Regions from separate parts of the Homo sapiens genome. Here region 1 is linked to region 2. Evidence: promoter capture Hi-C in 16 types of primary human blood cells and fetal thymus (Javierre and others, 2016). All regions are on one chromosome and are shown on one strand. The core of a region is centred on a gene start or on the middle of the fragment in contact, and the rest is flanking DNA. Distances in the headings are between cores, read along the strand shown.

The links. The method cuts DNA at HindIII sites, captures the fragments that hold promoters and counts their contacts. A CHiCAGO score of 5 or more calls a contact.
Region 1: a fragment that was not itself captured here is called in contact with the fragment with the promoter of TRPV4 in region 2 in 1 of 17 cell types (endothelial precursors); the score reaches 5.2 in endothelial precursors.

Annotation. Positions count from the first base shown.
Region 1 is chr12:109,529,012-109,534,771 of GRCh38, forward strand. It overlaps UBE3B (ubiquitin protein ligase E3B), which reads left to right. Exons shown (of 28, transcript NM_130466.4): 25 at 879-1,061; 26 at 1,536-1,647; 27 at 4,455-4,547; 28 at 5,580-5,760. Among named protein-coding and RNA genes, the nearest start is that of MMAB, 42 kb to the right of the region's middle. The HindIII fragment of the contact is 1,889 bases long and covers 1,212-3,100 here.
Region 2 is chr12:109,832,148-109,838,491 of GRCh38, forward strand. It overlaps TRPV4 (transient receptor potential cation channel subfamily V member 4), which reads right to left and starts at 1,251. Exons shown (of 16, transcript NM_021625.5): 1 at 1,203-1,251. It overlaps MIR4497 (microRNA 4497), which reads left to right and starts at 1,201; the gene lies at 1,201-1,289. The HindIII fragment of the contact is 8,362 bases long and covers 203-6,344 here.

The DNA of each region.
Region 1 (5,760 bases), core at 906-3,405, 300 kb before region 2:
TTAACTGGGTGTGGTGGTGCATGCCTGTAGTCCCAGCTACTTGGGAGGCTGAGGCAGGAGAATCGCTTGAACCCGGGAGTCAGAGGTCGCAGTGAGCTGAGATCGCACCACTGCACTCCAGCCTGGGTGACGGAGTGAGACTCTGTCTCAAAACATAAATAAATAAAAAGAAAAAAGAAATTAGCGATGCTAGCAAGCCTGTTGGAATGTATGTAACCTGTTGAGAGGATTATATGCTTTATGCAGTTGTAGTTGAGGGCACTGTGTTCATCACAGCAGACCCAGAGACCCTCTGCTTGGAACCATTGTAAGTTGCTCTGACTTCCCAGTTGAGTCCACTCCTAGCCCAGCTGCGTGTTTAAAGCATCTGCAGGTCCGCCTTGCCATAGCATTAGACTGTTGATCCAGATTAGCAAGGTTTTGATTAAAGTTTTGACATGAAACAATTTTTTTCTATTTTAAAACTTATTAGAGGACTGAATGGTATCTTAATTGATTTATGTCCAGAAGAATGAGATTAAATGAAAGTCCAAAAAGCACCCTTTGTACTAAGAAGGGCCCTCTTCTTACGTGGGGAATGTCTCCTTGTGATTCCCGACATAGTGGGGGCTTACCCCGAGGTGTGACCTATGGGTTTTGGGGAGGAGTGAATGATGCAGTGCCCTCAAAGGCTTGATGTGCACACAGTGGCGTATGGTGTGCAGTTCGTGAGTGCTGTCGTCATTGTCGCCATTGTCATTGTTCTGATGAAACACTCTGGTACTATTTGTGTTTTTTGTAAAATGGTTCAGAAATGACTAGACTGTCTTTCAGCCCATTGGTGACAGCCTGCCCCGTCCTGTTAATTGTCATTGTTATCTCTTCCTTGTTGGCAACAGAATTAGCTACATCCATCTGATGGCACATTTTCGAATGCACACTCAAATAAAAAACCAAACAGCTGCCCTCATTAGCGGATTCCGTTCCATTATCAAACCCGAGTGGATCCGAATGTTCTCAACTCCTGAACTGCAGCGTCTCATCTCTGGCGACAATGCTGAGATTGATCTGGAAGATTTAAAGTAAGAGGCGGGTGGGGGGAAGGGTGAAATTCCTTGGCCTCCCAGAAAGCCAGCTGCTCCCTCGCTGGGTTCCTTTTAGAGAGTTGTTTTAGGAGCCTGTCTCCAGATCTCCTTCTCCTCCCTGGACTGGCTAGACTGCTTTGGATTAAAAGCTTGACCACTTGTCTGCCTAGAGATTAAGAAGTGGAAGCAGGCCTGAGGACTGGGGGTTCTCTGAAGCTCTAGGAGATGGGGTCAGAGGATCTGGGGCTGGCCTCTGCTTGGGAACAGCAGGGCCAGCTCTCAAATTCCCCACCCTTTTAGCTTCCCAGGGAGATAGAGTTATTGAGGCATGAACTTCTGGCTTTAAGAGAAATTAGTAGTGTTCCCCAGGCCTGCCAGAGTGGACCGTGCCAGCTGTCTGCATGACCTGCCTGCCTGTCCATAAGTGCCCACGCTAGCACATTGCTGAGCCCAGGTCTGTATTGCTTTCAGGAAGCACACAGTCTACTACGGTGGTTTCCATGGAAGTCACAGAGTCATCATCTGGCTCTGGGATATTCTGGCCTCCGACTTCACACCGGATGAGAGAGCTATGTTTCTGAAGGTATTTTATTTATTACCTATGCATGCATGCATGTATTCTCATAAACCTGGAAGGCCAGTTGATGTAATAATTTACGCTGAAGAAACTGAAATTATCAGGAGGACCTCAGATAGTCAGCACATCCTCTCCCACAGGCAGGCCTCCCGGTAGGCCAAGCAGTAACCAGAGAGGGGCTTGAGGGGCACGGCCGAGCCTGCTGTGTGTCCCTGGCTGCAGGGACAGGCCCCCTGCACAGGTGGGCATACCTGTTGTGCTCGGCACTCCGTCCTCCCCTTTGCCTATGCTGGCCTTGATAACATCTTTTTTCTTTATTTCCTTTCATTATAGAAGTAAATGACCCTCTGCTTGGAACCTTACCTTAGGAAAATACAGATAAGCAAAATATTAAACAATTGCTGTTCCTCCAGTATGGAATTGTCAACTCTCTACACTCCTACTCACCAGGGACTGTCTCTCTATACCCATTTTCTCAATAGCGTAAGACACACATACACACCCACAGTGTCCCAATAAAACACACACAATTGCTTAGGCTGATATCAAGATGTATTTTTGCAAATAAAGTGGCTGACGTTAACTGGTTCCCCAGTTATGGTGTCTGTAAAAGTTGTAAATGTTCAAAATATTCCCCTAATGCCATTGCATTGTTTTTTGTTACTGACATCAGCAGTGTGTAAGTATTTCCTAGGACGCTGAATGGCACACACGCTTCTCTGTGTATGTGTTATATATGTGTATATTTCTCTAAAAATGGGATCCTATCATTTCCCACCAGCCTTCCTACTTGACAGAATATCAATGAACATTTTGCCATGTTCTGGTGGTAAATTTAGTGCCTTGAAATGTTTTCTTTTGGAGGTTTGGGCTTGAACAATCTCATGTGGCCTCATCTGTTGAGGCAACCTGGACAGTGTCACTGGCAATTAAAATGACAGCTGGTTTCCTCTCTCCTGGGTGGTCATTCTGAGGAGAGTTTATTCCTGTTGAAGAGGCCCTCACGCAGTCCAGCAGATAACACAAATGCCCCACATCCCCACAGGTCTCCGGGGATTTAGGATGGGCAGGCAGACAGAATTCCAGAAGTTGATTCTGGGAGAATCAGTTCAGTTTTCCCAGAAGTGCCTCATGGGCAAAGCAGTTTCTGCCAAGCTATAAAACGGCTCACGCTGGCCCCTCCTACAGAGGAAAACCAGTGTCTCATCATTGTGCAGGTGCTGCCCCACAAAACAGGTGTGTTTGTGCCTTTGGATAACCTGTCACCAAACCTACAGTTCCTTACCATGTGCCTGCCCTTTTGTGCAGCTGCATACAGGCCCCAGAGCCAAGCAGAAGAAATGTAACCCTTGCCCAGGAGTGGATGTGACCACGACCATGCTTCTCTTAAATGTAAAGCAAGCAGAGCATCCAGGGGTTTCCTGTGTCCTCCGCCCCTCCCCGCTCGCAGGAGCGGGAAAGCTTCCCTCCCTCCTTTCACCCACCTGAATTTGCAGCGGGCAGACCTGAGCCGGCCTAAATTGGGATGCACAGATACTTCTGTGTCTGTCCCCTTATTCTTAAAACAGGACTAACCACAGCCCCGACACACAGCATCCGTAGAGTGATTGGATGAGGTTGCATTCAGGGAATGCTCGTCACAGTGTGGAAACACAAAAATGCTTCCTGCATTGATGCTGCTATGGTTTTTATAAATAAAACATGTTAGAATAGGAATAGATCTTGTTAATACTCTTTTTAAAACTTTTTTTGATGCCCGACACACATAAACTGTCTTTGGATGGTCTCAGGAATCTCAGAACCATTTATAACAGACCCAAACCCTCAAATTGCCCCTGAGTTTTGGAGGACAGCTTGATGATGTAAGTGACAAGCCCCTGTATCCCCTAGAGAAGGGAGAACATTCTTGGCTACTGTTGAGTTAAAGTGAATGGTTTCTTGGGACACTCCTGTGCAAGTTTATCACTTAGATTTCCAGGCTGGTCAGATGCCTCTCTCCAGGCACGAGCTAGCACATTTGCAGGAATAACGCAGGGGCTGCCGCTTGGAGAACGCCGGGAGTTCCCAGGGGGTAGCAGGGAAGTGTGGCTGGCTGCCCACAGGCCCCACTTGGGCTGCCGGCACCTCAGCCTGCTCTGCAGCCTCACTGGCTCTGGGGCCTCATTTTTGTCAGTGTGCTGAGAGGTTATTAGTCTCTTGCACAGGGTCCCCCGGGGCCCCAGCACATAGACCACTCTAAATCAGCAGGCCCAGGGCTCAGGTGACTGCACCTGTGCAGTCCCCTCTGCATGAATAAGGAGCCGGCAGGATGCCAAGTGCAAGGCCAGTGAGTGCGGGTCTCCCGGGCTCCCTCTGTTCGCACCACGTGCAGTGGGTGCCACCAGCCTCCGCCTCGCCCTCACCGTCTCCCATTTTCTCCTCACATGGTCTCTCTGTGGGAGGGTGTCAGCTGCTGCTCTGTTCCTCTTAACAATCCCACAGGAGACCTGCCTCTCGGGGACGCCTCACCAGTGCCCTGGCTGGGCATTTGTGCTGTTCCTACTCTGCAGTCACACGTGCTCTCACAAGTGGCCAGTCGCACCTATTGGGTATGGGTTTCATGTGTCTTAGTCCCCGAGAGCAGCACCCTTGAGAGAGATGTACGGCGTGTGCCAGTTTTGGGGCCAGATCCACCCCGCCACTCCATACGGCTGGCTAGACAGCAGTTACAACACGGTAACAGACAGAGCAAACACGTGCTACACAGCTGCAAGGGCCCGTCCTGGAAGAGCAGGAGCCTGCCCCGTCCCCACTGACCCTGCTTTGTGTTGCAGTTCGTGACCAGCTGCTCCAGACCCCCGCTCCTGGGATTCGCCTACCTCAAGCCTCCATTCTCCATCCGCTGCGTGGAGGTGTCGGACGATCAGGTACCCCCACGGGGTGGGTGGGGAAGAGCCTTGACTTCCCTCTTGGTGGTTGTCTGCTGTGCCCACTGTGCAAGGCCCTTATCTAGTCCATATCTCAGCAAGGCAGGCAGCTGGACCCCTCAGAGCCAAGTGAGGAGGGCCCCACAGTTCTCACGGCAGGAGAACCAGCCAGCCCCAGAGAGACTGCCCACGGACTCAGCCCTCTCTCGGCAGCCCCTTTCTCTTTCCTTCCTCAGGGAAGGGTACCTGGAGTGGGGGTGGGTACGTGCTGTTTTTAGTGGCGTCTGGCCTCACCAGGGCTCCAGATCTGAGGCAGCATGGGAGAAAGTGAGAGAGTGGGCTCAGGAGGCAGGCAGGCGCAGACTCGAATGCTACTCCTACCCCAGCAGGCTGTGCACGTCCAGGCTCGCTGCTTCATTTCCTCATTGGCCAAAGGAGAAGGAAAGCCTTCAGGGTTACGGAGCTCTGTGTGTCTCAAGCCTGGCCCACTGTGGGTGCTCAAATGAGAGTCCTACTCCCCATAAAAACCCAGTGGCCGCCTCTGGGTGTAGCTGCCTCTCATGATGCAGTTTGAGCCCGTGATGCCACCTTGTACAGGAAGCTACACAGTCCTCGGCCTCCATGCTTAAGGGAAAGTTGGCCCAAGTCATGGTCTGCCACCGGCCACAGCACCGGTGAGGAGGGAGGAGTGCATTCAGAAATGTTTGGGCACCTAACAGTTTTTACAGCATTCTACTTTTTGTCAATTGGTTAACCAGTAATTCGCTGTGAACCGGAAGGCCCCATTTCCAAAAGCTTACTTAGTGCAGGAATTCTCTGTGCAGGCCCCAGGGAGAAGGGGTTCCTTCTCTGGAAGCCAGTCGTCTTGTGTCTGGGGCTTGACCTCGGGTAGTGGTGCCAGGGCAGCGCCCTGCACTCTGCCCAGCATCCAGGGACTGGCCAGATCCCCTCCCTGGGCTCCCTGGCCTTGGCATCAGCCTGGGCTCCCAAACTAGGCCCTTCCCAATTCAAGGCCACGATGTGTGCCTTCAGGACACCGGGGACACTCTGGGCAGCGTCCTCCGGGGCTTCTTCACCATCCGCAAGCGGGAGCCAGGCGGCCGCCTGCCCACCTCCTCCACCTGCTTCAACCTGCTCAAGCTGCCCAACTACAGCAAGAAGAGCGTCCTCCGCGAGAAGCTGCGCTACGCCATCAGCATGAACACGGGCTTTG
Region 2 (6,344 bases), core at 1-2,500:
GCTAAGGGACCAGGCCAAGGTCACACAGCAGGGGACTGCAGAGCACACCCCGGGCCCCACACAGGCCCGCTCTTAGCCCCGCAGATAACCCAGGCCTGACCTTTCTACCCTTGTTCCCCCAAAAGCCCACCTCGTCACCCTCCTCAGGAGCCCGGGGAGTCCCGACTTACCCTCTGCCCTTGCTCCGGAGCCAAAGTGGCAAAGCTTAAATCCTCAAGCGGTTCTTAGCATCCCAGAACAAAGCTCCCACAGGGTATCTGCCTAACATTTCAGGGGTTCACGGCCCCTCTGCCCCCAGCAGAGGCTCTTGTTTTAGAAGCTGAGCCAGAACAGCCACAGGGCCCACCTCTGCCCTGCCACTTCCCAAGCACCCCGGGGGCACCAGGCCCTGTGTGCAGAGCTGGCCCCAGGACAGGCCACCTGGTGTGGTGGGAAGGGCTTTGGGGCTGGATAGTCCCTGGGTTTAAATCCCAATTGTCTAGATCCCCGACCTAAGCCTCAGTTTCCCCATCTGCAAAACAGAGAGGACAGACAGAGGGAACAGCTGGGGCAGGCTGGAGCAGTGGGTGGCTCGATGAATGCATCTGTGGTTGGTGTTTCCAGGCAAGCGGGGAGTGTGGGAGTCTCTCTCTCCCCCACCCCCACCCCCGCTACCCACCCCCAGGAGCCACCCGCCCCCGGGACGTCCTGAGAGTCCAGGGCAGAACTAGAGGTTAAAGATTTTCATGCCTCTTGGAGGAAACAGCCGTCTCTCCGGGACTCAGTAACCAAGAAGAAGCCTTTGGAAGCTCCAGACTCCAAATTCCCTCCGACATGCTCAGGGGCCAAGGGCAAACCTTAGGTCCCCCGAAATCCCTCTTCCAAGTCTCCTAAGGTGGGCTGCAAGGCTCCGGGCCTTTGGTTCCCTGGCTTGGGGTCTCAGGGAACCGAACCGCCCTCCCCCCAGACCTGCTACCCCAGGCCCCACGTTGGTGCCCATTTCACAGGTGATAAAACCGAGACCCAAAGAGCCGGTGTCCGGCCCAAGGGCACTTAGCTGAGAGGCTGGCGCCTGCGGAACCTGGTGCCTTCCGTCTCCCGCGCCCCTGGCCCGCATTTTGGAGCCTCGGGACCCCCCGGAGCCGGACGGGCCACGGAGATGTCCCCAGGGGCGCGAGGGGACCTCGGCTGAGCCGCCCCTCCCGGGCCCGGGCCCCACTTACCTCCGGGACGGCTGGGCGCCGGCGGCCGGGAGATCCGCGCTTCCTGAATCCCGGCCGGCCCGCCCGGCGCCCGTCCGCCCGCGGGTCCCTCCTCCGCCGGCTCAGGTTCCAGCCGCGCGCCGCCCCCGGCCAGCTCCCCGCCCACCCGCCGGCTCGCGGACCCCGCCGAGCGCAGGCCCTAGAAGGGGCGGCCCCTACTCGCACCCCGCCCGCCCAGCGAGGGCCTCCCCTGCGGGGGAGGTGCAGGGCCAGGGCCTCAGTTTCCTCGCCTGGAAAATGGGTGTCGCGATCCCCGGATAGAGCGGCAGACGGTCTTTGGAGAGGGCTCTAGTTGGAATCGGCTCCGATTCGATCTTGCTCCGTGACTTCGGGCCGCCCTGGGACTGTGTCCTAGTCTCTAAATGGGCGTCCCGGCCCAGTCCTCCACGTGTTTGCTCATTCATTCATTCAGCAGACAATTTCCTCCGAGGCGTTGAAGGAGGTCCCTACCCTCGGGTATGGCCCATAGAGATGGTTCAGGGGTAAATAAATGTGAGCTGCTCTCCTTGGTCTTCACCCAGTGCTTACTGCGAAGCCTGCCTCGGAGTAGGCCATCAATGTTTTGTTGCTGTTGTTTTTGAGACAGGGTCTCACTCTGTTGCCCAGGCTGGAGTGCGGTGGCGTGATCAGGAATCACTGCAGCCTCAACCACCAGCGTTCAAGCAATCCTCCCGTATCAGCCTCCCTAGTAACTGAGACCACAGACGCCTACCACCATGCTTGGCTAATTTTATTTAAATTTTTTGCAGAGATAGGGTCTCACTATGTTGCCTAGGCTGGTCTCAAACTCCAGGCTCAAGCGATCTACCCACCTCGGCCTCCCAAAGTGCTGGGATTAGAGGTCTGAGTCACCGTGCCTGGCTCAATGCGTTTTTGTTTATTTTTTTTATTATTATTATTATTTTTGATACATGTTCTCCCTTTGTCACCCAGGTTGAAGTGCAGTGGCATGATCACGGCTCACTACAGCCTCAAACTCCTGGCCTCAAGAGATCCTCCCACCTCAGCCTCCTGAGCAGCTGGGAGTACAGGCATGCGCCACCACACCCCACTAATTTTTATTTTTTTGTAGAAGGGGGGGTGGGGGAGGGCAGCCGGTCTACAACTCCTGGCCTCAAGTGATCCTCCCACTTCAGTCTCCCAAAGCACTGAGAGTATAGGCATGAGCCACCACACCTACCCATGTATTTTCTTTTATCAGATAACAAAGGTGGGCCCCAACACATAGCCATACCCTCTACCCAGCACTGAGTCCACTTGAATACCTCCACAGGATGGGCAGCTCACTTCCTCCAGGGTGGTTGGAAAGCCTAGCAGGCCCACAGCTTGGCTCTGTGACTCTCTAACCCAGCAGCCCTATGCAAGTCCCTTCACCTTTGTGCCTCAGTGCCTCTACATCCCCCTGTAGAGTGGGGCATACAAAAGTCCTCACCTCACAGTCGCAGTGAAGATGCTGGGAGCATCCAGGCTGTGCAGAGCCCTTTTTTTTTTTTTTTTGAGACAGAGTCTTACTCTGTCGCCCAGGCTGGAGTTCAGGGGTGTGATCTCAGCTCACTGCAACCTCTGCCTCCTGAGTTCAAGCGATTCTCCTGCCTCAGCCTCCTGGGGGCTGGGATTACAGGCATGCGCCACCACGCCAGGCTAATTTTTTGTATTTTTAGTAGAGACAGGGTTTCACCATGTTGGCCAGGCTGGTCTTGAACCCCTGACCTCAGTTGATCCACCCACTTTGGCCTCCCAAAGTGCTGGGATTACAGGTGTGAGCCGCCGTGCCCGGCCCAGAGCCATGCCATTTTCATCATTAGTGTTTTCACTAAATTGAGCTGACTCAGGGACTGTGGGGTAGCTCCTTCCTCCTCAGCTTGAAAATAGCAGCATCTCTCCTGAGGTCCAACAGCTGGAAAGTGAAATTTTAGAATTGCTGGGTGGGGAGGCGAAAGAGAGAGAGAGAGAGTGTGTGTGTGTGTGTACCCCTGAATAGGAGTGATGTGTTCACCTCCAGCGTGAAACATTTACAAAGAAACAAACCCTAATAATTAACTCACTGAGCACAGAAGCCTAGGGGATGAGAGGGAGAACAGGCTGTGAGGTAGGGTTTGCTCTACCCATTTTGCAAGTGGGAAACTGAGGCTTGGAGAGGAGTATGGCCTCTCCAAAAGCTGCTCCCTCCATGGTGGGGGTTGGGGTGGGAAAGAGAACCCTCTGAGGGTCCGGAGTAAACAGGCAGATGTCTGGCAGTGGAGAGGAAGGTAAACACAGGGCCCCTCACACCTCCCTGACAGACAGCTATCTGCTGGGGGCCCTCAGGGCTGGGGCTGGGGCTGGGCCAGGTTGAGAGTGGAGGAGTGAGTCTGGGACCCATTTCTGCAGAAAGGCCTGTCTCAATTTAAAGAAAATGGCAAGGGTGATTCCAGCCATAAGGCAGCTGATGTTGGGGACTGGAACTGGGGGAGATGGGGCCAGGGATGGCGACCTCCTCTTCTCTAAGCTCAGAGGGAAGGGGCCTGAGCGCTCAGCATCATCATCACTAACCCAGCTCTTTCCTGATCCCCATTTCACAGATGGGGCAACTGAGGCCCCCATGTAGGGAAGTGACTCATCTTGGGCTAAGCAGCTGGAGCTTGGCCTCTGCACCAGACACTGGGGTTCAAATCCTGCCCTGCCGCTGATGGGAGAAGGAGCTGTGGTGGGAGCTGTGGGCAAGAGCCTCCCTCTCTCTCTGTGCCTCAGTTTCCTCACCTAAAAAATGGGTACCAGTGTCCATGAAGCAAGGGAACGTGTTCATGACCACAGGTCTAGCACCTGGCACTTAGTAGGTGCTTTAAAAATACTGGTTGATGGGTCAGGCGAAGTGGCTCATGCCTGTAATCCCAGCACTTTGGGAGGCTGAAGTGGGCAGATCAACTGAGGTCAGGAGTTCGAGACCAGCCTGGCCAACATGATGAAACCCCGTCTCCACTAAAAATACAAAAATTAGTTGGGCATGGTGGTGGGCACCTGTAATCCCAGCTACCTGGGAGGCTGAGACAGAATTGCTTGAACCTGGGAGAGGGAGGTTGCAGTGAGCAGAGATCGTGCCACTGCACTCCAGCCTGGGCAACAGAGAGCGACTCCATCTCAAAAAAAAAAAAAGTCCTGGTTGATGGAGCTGGGGGAGAGGAGAATGGGAGGTTGCTGTTTGTTGGGCGTAGGGTTTCAGTTTTGCAAGATGCAAAGAGTTCTGGAGATGAACGAGGGTCACACAACAATATGAATATACTTTTTAAGTTTAATTTTTAATCTTTTTTTTTTTATTTTTAGAGAGAGACAGGGTATTGCTCTGTAGCCCAGGCTGTAGTGCAGTTGCCTGCTCATAGCTCACTGCAGCCTCAAATTCCTAGGTTCAAGCGATCCTCCTGCCTCAGCCTCCTGAATAGCTGGGACTATAGGTGTGTGTCACCAAGCCTGGCTTTTTAAATTTTATTTTTTGTACAGGTGAGGTCTCGCTATGCTGCCCAAGCTGGTCTCAAACTCCCGTGCTCAAGTGATCCTCATAACCTGGCCTCTCAAAACATTGGGATTACAGGCATGAGCCACTGTGCCTAGCCAGAAATAATGTTTCCTCTTAGGGAAGGAAAAACTTTCAAGGCCCTCAGCATTGGCTGTGAGTCATGTGGCAGCCACATGTGGGGCGCAGCCTTGCTCTCCACGTAGCTCCTGGACTGCCCCAGGTGGACTCAGCTACCTCCCCTAAGAAAGGTTCCTGGGCAGCAGCCAAGGGTCTGCATTTACCAAGTGCTTACTGTATGCCAGGTCCAGTGCCAGATGCTGGGGAGAGATTGGTGAGCCAGACAGGTCAGGATCTCAGGGACTTTATACCCAGGGTACCCAGTTATAAAAACAAGACACGTGCACCTCACTTTACAGTTGGCACAGTCCTGATCCTGCCACTAACTCAGTTCATCTTTTGACAGCCTGGAAAGGAGGAATTCTTCCACCATTTTATAGATAATGACACAAAGAGGCCACTTGTCTGAGATCATCCCACAACTGGTAAGATTTGAACCCAAGCCCAGCAGACTCTACAGTGTAGCATGACCAGCAGGAATATTTTCCTGGCCAGGTGCGGCGGCACACACCTGTAATCATAGCATTTGGGGAGGCTAAGGCAGGAGAATCACTTGAGCCCTGGAGGTCAAGGCTGCAGTGAGCTGTGTTCAGGCAGCTACACTCCAGCCTGAGCAACAAAGTGAGACCCTGTCTAGGAAAAAAAGAAAAAAAGAATATGATCTCAAAAAGACAGACCATAAGTGTGGATGAGGAAGTGGAGAAGCTGGAATCTTCGCACACTGCTGGTGGGAATGTGTAATGGAGTGGCTGCTATGGAAAACGGTCTGGCAGTTCCTCCAAATATTAAATCTAGAGTTACTGCCAGGCACGGTGGCTCCCGCCTGTAATCCCAACACTTTGGGAGGTCAAGGCGGAAGGATCACTTGAGGCCAGGAGTTTGAGACCAGCCTGGCCAACACGGTGAAACCTCATCTCTAATTAAAAAAAAAAATACAAAAATTAGCCGGGCATGATGGTGGGCACCTGCAATCCCAACTACTCAGGAGGTTGAGGCACAAGAATTGCTTAAGCCCAGGAGGCAGAGGCTGCAGTGAGCTGAGATTGTGCCACTGCACTCCAGCCTGGGCAACAGAGTGAGATCCTGTCTCAAAAAAAAAAAAAAAATCTGGAGTTCCCATATGACCCAGCAATTCCACCCCAGAAATATAGCCAAGAGAAATGAGAACTTACGTCCATAGAAAAACTTGAATGTTCATAGCAGCATTATTCATAATAGCCAAAAAAAGAAAACAACTCAAATTCTCAATGGATAAACAAACACAGTATATCCACACAAAGGAATACTATTTGGCAATAAAATGAATGGTTACTGAGTCATGCAACAACATGGATGAACCTTGGAAGCAGGATGCTGAGTGGCCAGACACAAAAGGCCGCATATTACATAATTCCATTTATATGAAATGGCCAGAAGAGGCAAATCTATAGAAACAGAAAAGAGCTGAGTGGTCGTCAGGGGCTGGGGGGAAGGGAGGATTTGGGGGGCCAAGGGTA